2 separate regions of the Homo sapiens genome follow, and region 1 is linked to region 2. Evidence: promoter capture Hi-C in human tissues and cell types (Jung and others, 2019). All regions are on one chromosome and are shown on one strand. The core of a region is centred on a gene start or on the middle of the fragment in contact, and the rest is flanking DNA. Distances in the headings are between cores, read along the strand shown.

The links. Contacts are between HindIII fragments. The study calls those that stand out against the background at their distance.
Region 1: a fragment that was not itself captured here is called in contact with the fragment with the promoter of DOK6 in region 2 in 1 of the 25 tissues and cell types used here (aorta).

What each region holds. Positions count from the first base shown.
Region 1 is chr18:69,357,203-69,361,587 of GRCh38, reverse strand. No RefSeq gene overlaps it. Among named protein-coding and RNA genes, the nearest start is that of DOK6, 41 kb to the left of the region's middle. The HindIII fragment of the contact is 4,729 bases long and covers 1-4,385 here.
Region 2 is chr18:69,398,508-69,402,875 of GRCh38, reverse strand. It overlaps DOK6 (docking protein 6), which reads right to left and starts at 1,988. Exons shown (of 8, transcript NM_152721.6): 1 at 1,566-1,988. The coding sequence starts at 1,631. The HindIII fragment of the contact is 8,036 bases long and covers 350-4,368 here.

The DNA.
Region 1 (4,385 bases), core at 789-3,288, 41 kb after region 2:
CAATGGGGATACAGGCATTGGGTAAATACATCCATTCCAAATGGGAGAAATTGGCCAAAACGAAGGGGCTACAGACCCCATGCAAGTCTGAAATCCAGCAGGGCAGGCAAATCTTTTTTTTTTTTTTTTTTTTTTTGAGATGGAGTCTTGCTCTGTCACCAGGCTGGAGTGCAGTGGTGCGATCTCAGCTCACTATAACCTCTGCCTACTGGGTTCAAGCAATTCTCTTGCCTCAGCTTCTTGAGTACCTGGGACTACAGGTGTGCACCACCACGTCCAGCTAATTTTTGTATTTTGGGTAGAGACAAGGTTTCACAGTGTTGGCCAGGATGGTCTTGATCTCTTGACCTCATGATCAGGGCAGTCAAATCTTAAAAGCTCCAAAATGATCTCCTTTGACTGCATGTCTTGCATCTGGGTCACGCTGTTGCAAGAGATGGGCTTCCATGATATTGGGCAGCTCTGCCCCTGTGGCTCTGCAGAGTAAAGCCTCCCTGGCTACTTTCGTGGGCTGGCATTGAGTGTCTGCAGCTTTTCCAGGTCCACAGTGCAAGCTGTAGGTGGATCTACCCTTCTGGGGTCTGGAGGATGATGGTCTCTTTTCACAGCTCCACTAGGCAGTGTCCCAGTAGGGACTCTGTGTGGGGACTCCAACCTCCCATTTCCCTTCCACACTGCTCTAGCAGAGGTTCTCCCATGAGAGCCCTGCCCCTGCAGCAAACTTCTGCCTGAGCATCCAGGCATTTCTATACATCCTCTGAAATCTAGGCAGAGGTTCTCAAACCTCAATTCTTTACTTCTGTGCACCCACAGGCTCAACACCACATGGCAGCTGCCAAGGCATGAGGCTTGCACCCTTTGAAACCACAGCCCAAGCTGTACCTTGGCCCCTTTTAACCATGGGTGGAGCTTCTGGGATGCAGGGCACCAAGTCCCTAGACTGCACACAGCACAGGGACCCTGGGCTTGGCCCAGGAGACCATGTTTTCCTCCTAGGCCTCTGGGCCTGTGATGGGAGGGGCTGCTGTGAAGATCTCTAACATGCCCTAGAGACATTTTTCCCACTGTCTTTGAGACTGACATTCAGCTCCTCATTACTTATGCAAATTTCTGTGGCCAGCTTGAATTTCTCCTCAGAAAATGGGATTTTCTTTTCTATGGCATTGTCAGGCTACAAATTTTCTAACTTTTATGCTCTGCTTCCCTTATAAAACTGAATGCCTTTAACAACATCCAAGTCACATCTTGAATACTTTGCTGCTTAGAAATGTCTTCCACTAAATACCCTAAGTTGCCCTTCTCAAGTTCAAAACAAATCTCTAGGGCAAGGGCAAAATGCTGCCAGTCTCTTTGTTAAAACATAACAAAAGTCATCTTCGCCCCAATTCCCAACAAGTTCTTCATTTCCATCTGAGACCACCTCGGCCTGGATTTTATTGTCCATTTTGCTGTCAGCATTTTGGTCAAAGCCATTCAACAAGTCTCTAGGGTGTTCCAAACTTTCCTACATTTTCCTGTCTTCTTCTGAGCCCTCCAAACTGTTCCAACCTCTGCCTGTTACCCAGTTCCAAAGTCCCTTCCACATTTTTGGGTATCTTTTCAGCAACACCCCACTCCTAGTACCAATTTACTGCATTAGTTGTTTTCAAGCTGCTGATAAAGACATAGAATGGGAAGAAAAAGTGGTTTAATGGACTTACAGTTCTACATGGCTGGGGAGGTCTCACAATCATGGCAGAAGGCAAGGAGGAGCAAATCACATCTTATGTGGATGGTGGCAGGGAAGGAGAGAGCTTGTGTAGGGAAACTCCCATTTTTACAACCATCAGATCTTGTGAGACTCATTCACTATCACAAGAACAGTGCAGGAAAGACTCACCTCCATAATTCAATCACCTCCCACCAGATTCCTCCCATGACATGTGGGAATTGTGGGGGTTATAATTCAAGATGAGATTTAGGTGGGGACACAGCCAAACCATATCAGGGGCTAAATCTAATCTTCCCAGAACAAGTCCCAAAAAGGCATCCACAGGACCAGGGCTGAGTTTAAAAGAAACAACTTAGTGAATGGAAGATGGAGGCCATGCTCTCTTCCAACCTCAGGAAGAGCCACGTCCCTTTTCACAACAGGGATATGATTAGGCACAAAGAATTTCCAGAACAGAAATTGTCTCAGATATATGCTAACCTCAGTGTGACAGCAGAAACACTTTTTCTTGCTTTCTCTTGTGGTCATGAGGAGAGGTTTTCACTAAATGACTTAAAACTATGGCACATATTCTTTCCACCCACAGAGAGGTGGAGAAAGTTAATCAACTGGGAAACTTGGGAAACATAATTAGGTGTGCATCATTCAATACCACCCTTTTGTCCTTTACGCATCAGCTGCCCACAGTGATGCCATATTTTCTTTTGCTGGAAAATGGCTGTTAAATGTGTTTAATTCTGAGGTTTACTTGACATCTGTTTCTTACCAAGATACACACTTCAATCGACCTTTAGTTATAAGTTGATGTTTTGACATACATAGTGGTAATTTATTCTCAAACTGTTTAGAATCTGCTACAGAGGTGTGATCTTTATTCTAGGATCTTTTATGGAAGGCTGTGAGCAGTAAGTTTTGCTATTCACATTTTAAAGAAGAAACAGAAACACAGAGTTTAAATTATGAAGTGTAGATCTCACAGATGGTAAGTAGATGAACTGTGACTTGAATCCATGTAATCCTACTCTAGAGACTGAATTCTTAACAACTATGTTCTATGGCCCTGGTGGAAAGTTTGCTTTGTGATAATGTTGCCAAAAACAAACAAAAAGGAATAAAAGCCCAGTGTCCTCAAGGGGGGCATGATGGAACTATGTTGAGCTGACTGAGACTTCCTTCCCTTTCATGACAACTCTGATCTCTCTCATCTTCTGGCTAATCTTTGGTCAAGGCTTAGGGGTTGCTAAATGTACGTGAAGCTTTGAGATCCTTTCTGTGGGTTGCTTGGAAAAAGCCAGTATCATCCTTTTGTTCCTCTCTCTGCAGGATAAACAAATCTCTGGAGACGAGTATTGGAAGACACTGGGAAGGGAATAGGAAGTTAGAAATCTTGGGAAGAGTTTTATCCACAGTGATCTGTGTCATCAAAAAAAGGAAGGTCGAGTTCAAACCACTGTATGTGTGTCTGATCGTTCTAGTCATGAGGACACTGAGAAGACGGAGCTTGTGGGAGCTGAGCCTGGGAAAATATAAACAGCCTGAGAATAGGAAGGGCTTCAAAATTTGGATAGATAGTCTGATAACGCCTAGCTTACAGGCCCTGCCTAGAATCTTGTGTGAACTCCTACCACTGAGGAACTATCACACTTAGGGTACTCTCTGGACTTCATCCTTAATGGATTTCCAGAGAAATATAAATTCTCTCAGATAGCCTGAGGGCAGAACACAAGGAAACCACACAGAGCAGATTAAAGCTGCTGGAAGAAGTAAGCAGCCTGAGAAAAATAGTGAGAATGCCTAAAAAGATTTAAAAGGAACCCACATACACACAAACATTATTTCTAGAGAGTAAAAAACAAATAATTTCTAACTAAATAAGTGGCTGATAAGTTCAAGTATGGTAATTGTTTGGTAGATTAAACGCAAACATTATTTAAAGCACAGGCAAGGTCAGGCTCAGTGGCACGTGCTTGAAATCCCAGCACTTTGGGAGGCTGAGGTGGGAGGATTGCTTGAGCTCAGGAGTTTGAGACTGGCCCAAGAAACATGGCAAAACCCCATCTCCAGTATAAATAGAAAAAGTAGCTGGGCATGGTGGTGCACACCTGTAATACCAGCTGCTTGGGAGGCTGAGGCATGAAAATCACTTGAACCCAGGAGGTAGAGGTTTCAGTGAGCCGAGATGGCACCGGTGCACTCCAGCCTGGGTGACAGAGCAAGGCTTTGTCTCAAACAAGAACAACAAAAATCCTAAAGCACAGGCAAAAATATTGAAGAGATTGAAACACACACAAATATGTATGTATACAAATATACATATCTATATCTATGTCTACCTATCCATCTATCTATCTACATATACACACACATTTCAAATCAATAGAACAAAGAAACCCACAGAAAAAAAAAGTTAGGTAATCTAGCATGTACTTTCTGGCAAAAAATAAAGTCTTATCTCAAGCATTGAGGTTTTCTTACCTCAGGCACTCTTTAAGTTGACCTCAGTCAAAGACTTAGGGTTAGGCAGTTTACTTGGGAGGTGATCCCAGAAAGCTCAGGTGTGGGAGGAGAGAACGTGAGAAGAGGGCGGGGAGTCTGGGGAACCAACCAAGAGTATGTTATGGAGATGGTTACTCTTGTGGGCAATTTGAATGCAATCCTGGGAACTCTCTTAAGA
Region 2 (4,368 bases), core at 739-3,238:
TCCTTATATGCCTGGAAAAGAATGAGGCGCTTTCTTCTACCCAAGAAAAGCCCTTGAAACCTGGCCGAGGATCTGACTCTGGCGCCTGCTCTCTCTCGCCTTGGTGGGGCTCACGGCAGCGCACGTTGGCTCCAGGCTGGAGGAAGGGGGGCGTTGCTGTCACCCAGCTCCGCACTCGCTCTTGCAGCCTCCCAGCCTACTACAGAGCTGCTGAAGTTCCAGAATGGGCCCCTGTTGTCCTTGGGGTACAGTCTGCACCTTTAATGCGAAACCCAGCAGAGGCAGCACCAAGAGTCAAGTCTGCCTTTCCCGTCCTCCTGTCCCCAACACCTGGCGCCGCCAACTCCCGACAAAGCGACTCCTGGTGCTTGGTGATCTGCCCTCTTTCGGGGATTCTACCTTATCTTTCTTCCACTCTCTAACACTACCCTTCTTTTGCTTTCTTTTTTACACAAAAATTAGCAAAGTCCTCCCCTCTTTTTCCCCTTCTCCAAGTTGGAGGATTCATCCAGTCATCAGGGAACACAGGAAAGGTTCTAGCTCAAGGACCCTTTGCCCCGGGAGGCAGGAGCTTGGTAGAACTGGAAGTTGGAGAACAGTGAGGTAGACACAACCAGAGTCTGGAACAGGGGCCCTTTCTTTCCCAGACGAGTTTCCCCTCGCTTTTCTGGACCAGCCAGCCGGGGTCAGCCTCCCAGGCCACCCTACATCGCGCGCTCCCCAGGGACCTCCTGCCCATCCCTCCATCCTCTCTCTCGCGTCCCAAGTCTAGGCTGCTCCCGCCCAGGTGACAGCCCCTCCTGTCCCGCTGCCTCCCGTGAGTCCCTCCTACCGCCTCGTCTGGTCACTAGAATAGTTTTGAACCCTTGGGTTCTACACGGTTTCCCTCCCAAGCCAGGCAGCGCATCTCTCAAGAATAGGGAAAGGTCTCCATCAACTTTGCCGTCACGGAGCAGTGACCGCGGGCGGGCGCGGGGCACACACCTGCCTGCACGCGGGCGCGGGTCCCCGGGTAGGGGAGCACTTGCGGGGCGCGGGAGCCGCCCTCGGCCACGGCGAAGGCGCCCTAAACTACAGCCGGCAGGGACGCGCGGCGCTGGGAGGGCATCAGACGGGAATTTCGAATTGAGCTTGGGAAGCGGAGACCAGAAAATGGTGATTCTAAACACACGCGAGCGTCGCCACACACAGCAGTTCCACCCGAAAGGCGCACACTTTTGAGAACAGACCATCGTGGATAGCACCGCAAAGAAACCTCCTCCAAGGCACGTTCCTCGTTGGAACTGACAACCCCTTTCGTCTACTGACTTCCCCGCACGGTCGAAGACAGCCCGGTGCACTCGAGGATGGGGACTCAGGCGCTCCTGGAGTCCCCAGGTCCGTCTGCGGAGCCCCCCGGCAGGTGTGGGCCCCCACCTGGCCAAGCAACAAGCGGGCCATCCGCCTAAGGGCCGGGTCCCTCTCTGCCCTGTACCCGCACGGGTCACCTCTCCCTGCCCCCCCCCCAGGCAGCCAGCCGGGCCGAACGAGCGCCGGGGAAGGAGCAAGCCGAGCGAGCCACTCACCCCAAGCTTCCTGCTGCGGATTTTCACGTAGCCCTGCTTGACTATGTCGTTAAAGTTGGAGGCCATGGCCAGCGCGATCGGGCTCCTGCGCCCCGCGATCCGCTCTCCGGAGTCGAGAGCCGCCGTCCGCCGCCGGGTCTGCGCGGGTCTCGCATCCAGCCGGCCGCCGCCAGCAGCAGCGCCGCCGCCCGCTCTTCCCCGAGCTCCCGCCGGTGGGGACGCGGGGTCGCCTGCAGGGCCGCCGCGGACGGGGAACGGGGCCCGGCGCCGCGAGCCGCGCCAGCCCTCCGCGTTCTGGCGCTCACCTTCGCTCCCCGCCGCGAGCCCAGCGCCGCGGCCCGCGCCTCCGCCAGCTGCGGGAGCCCCCACCGCGCCGCCGCCCCCGGCAGCACCCACGGGCTGGCGCCTCGCTCGGCGGCGCACAGCTGGCCGGAGCGCACCACCGCGGCTCCCCGGCGCGGGGGGAGGGGGCGGGCCGGGGGGGGCGGGCTGATGCGCCGGCCCCGCTCCCTCCCCCTGGCCCGTGGGGTGGCTGGGCTCGGAGACGCTCGCAAGACGCGCTCCATCCCTCTCCGCGCGGGTGGGAGCGCCTCCGCCGCCGGGCGCCCCGAGGCCCGCTCCCCACCCGGCTCCCCGGTCCCTCAGCGCTCCCCGGGCGCGAGATTCCTAAGGACACGGCGCCTCATTCCCGGGCTCTAAATCTCCACTCGCAAGCTGTGCAGCGGGGAAAGGGCAGTGGGGACACTTCCAACGCGGAAGGCCAGCGGGAGCGAGACACTTATTTCATTGGCCTTGTTTACAGTACATTTTTATTCCCAAGCACTCGCGGCCGTTCCAGGTCTCTGCCCCGTTAGGAAGTGTAAATCGACGCCAGACCCTTCCTGGTGCACACAAAGAGACCAATCGTGCGCATGTGTCTAATCCTCCCGCAGCCTAGAGACAGGCAGGCGGGCGAGGCAGCCGGGCGCCGACGTCCTCTGCTGAAGGAGTGGAGAAGACCGACCGACCCGAGTGGTTGATTTATGCATGCGTTTTCGTTAACTAGGACTGAAAGTGGCTCCTGGCTCTTCTGGGAAAATGGAGAACGTGGTTGTTATCAATGGATACCAATGACTTCCTGAAATGCTCAACTTGTACAAACAAAAAATGAAAAACTTTCTCCCCTTAATGTAGAAACACATGGCATTTTAAAAGTAGGTTTTTCATTATTGTAAAGATGTTTTAATTTTTAGGATTATGTTTTTGTGAAAGATTCGAGGAAAAAGAGCGATGTTGAGTTTTGGCCGGAGGCAACATATGGATTTTTACTATAGGCTAGAACATTTAGTACTTACTTCTAAGGATGTTTCTAATTAGTAAAATGTATAAAGATTGACAATTTTTAAGGTGACTCCTGCAAGAGTTATATTTAGTAAAAGTTCAAAAGATGATGTTTGTTTATTACGGTGAGCAGTATTTTTCCAGGTTCTCATTTAAAATTTCCTACCCCATTTGAAACACAATAATAGAAAGAAAGGAAACTTACTTGAATGAGGTTGTGGGGGGAATGTAAAAACTTGAAGGACAAGGTAGCTCAGTCCAACCAGATGAGCATCCAAGGGAGATTTTTGTCTCATCCTTTGCAGAAATCTCCATCTAGAGCCCGTGTAAACCAATGGAAATTCTTACTTGCTTTAACAGCACACTATTCCTATTCATTCATTAATGTGGGCTAGCCTTTTTTTTTTTTTAAATAAAAAAACCTTCCACCGTGCAAAGTACCAGATGCTGGGGCAGATCAGATACTAAGGATAACATGGTAAAATCCTTTCCGCTGTCACTCTGGAATGGGCCCAAACTCTGACCTTCCCAGAAAATTTGCATAAACTCCCTGGAATGGGCTCAAGCTCTGACCTTCTCAGAAAATTTGCATAAACTCTCTGATAACTCCTTGTAATTCTTTCCTCTAAATACCTGGCACAGCTTGTCTATTCCACCCACTTCTTACTATTTCATACGCTGCATGGCCATTTTTTTTAGAAATGTAAAGACTGCTTTAGGTTTGTAAATGCTTTAAATAAGTGATTTCATTCAGCCCTCTTTGCAACCACATATGTTAAATGTGGTTGCCAGTTACTAGAGGAAATTGAGGCTCACAGACATTCAGTTGCAGAGCCACACGTTTCAAGATTGATTTGAGGTCTACAGTGATTTCTATGACCACTGACTCCTTCTCCTATTTATATAATCATCTGTTTCACAAGTCAATTATCAGTTCTTTGAAGTCAGGGATTAGTTTTGTCTCAGCAACAATCTTAGTGCTTACATAAGTAACAGGTGTGATCAATAATCGTAGCTTTTAATGATTATGTATGTGATCACTGTGCCTACATTCATGTTTATCAACGTCTTTGTAACACCCTAGCATGACTTCAATATTCTCATTTATCTTTTATTTTTAAATTTGTGATACAGCAATTTTTATGTATGTGTGTCCCTCTTTTTATGATCTTTATTTGCTTCTTGAAAGCAGTAGGTTATCTGTCATGTAAATTTTCCCAGTTCTGGATTTGGTTGCATAGCATCAATTAAATATGTTCACCCAAGTCCCATGTTTCCTACTAATGTGACTTAGAAACTTACCTGCATTCTCCTTTTTTTCAAAATAATTAATAAAAGATGCTGTGTATATTCTACTGAATCATACCAAAGGAACAAAATATCTAGCTGTCCAATTGATTAGAAGATTAAAGTGTTGTCAACACTCATCCATACATTATAAAATTATAAAATATAAATTATATGAAATTGTAGAATTATAAAA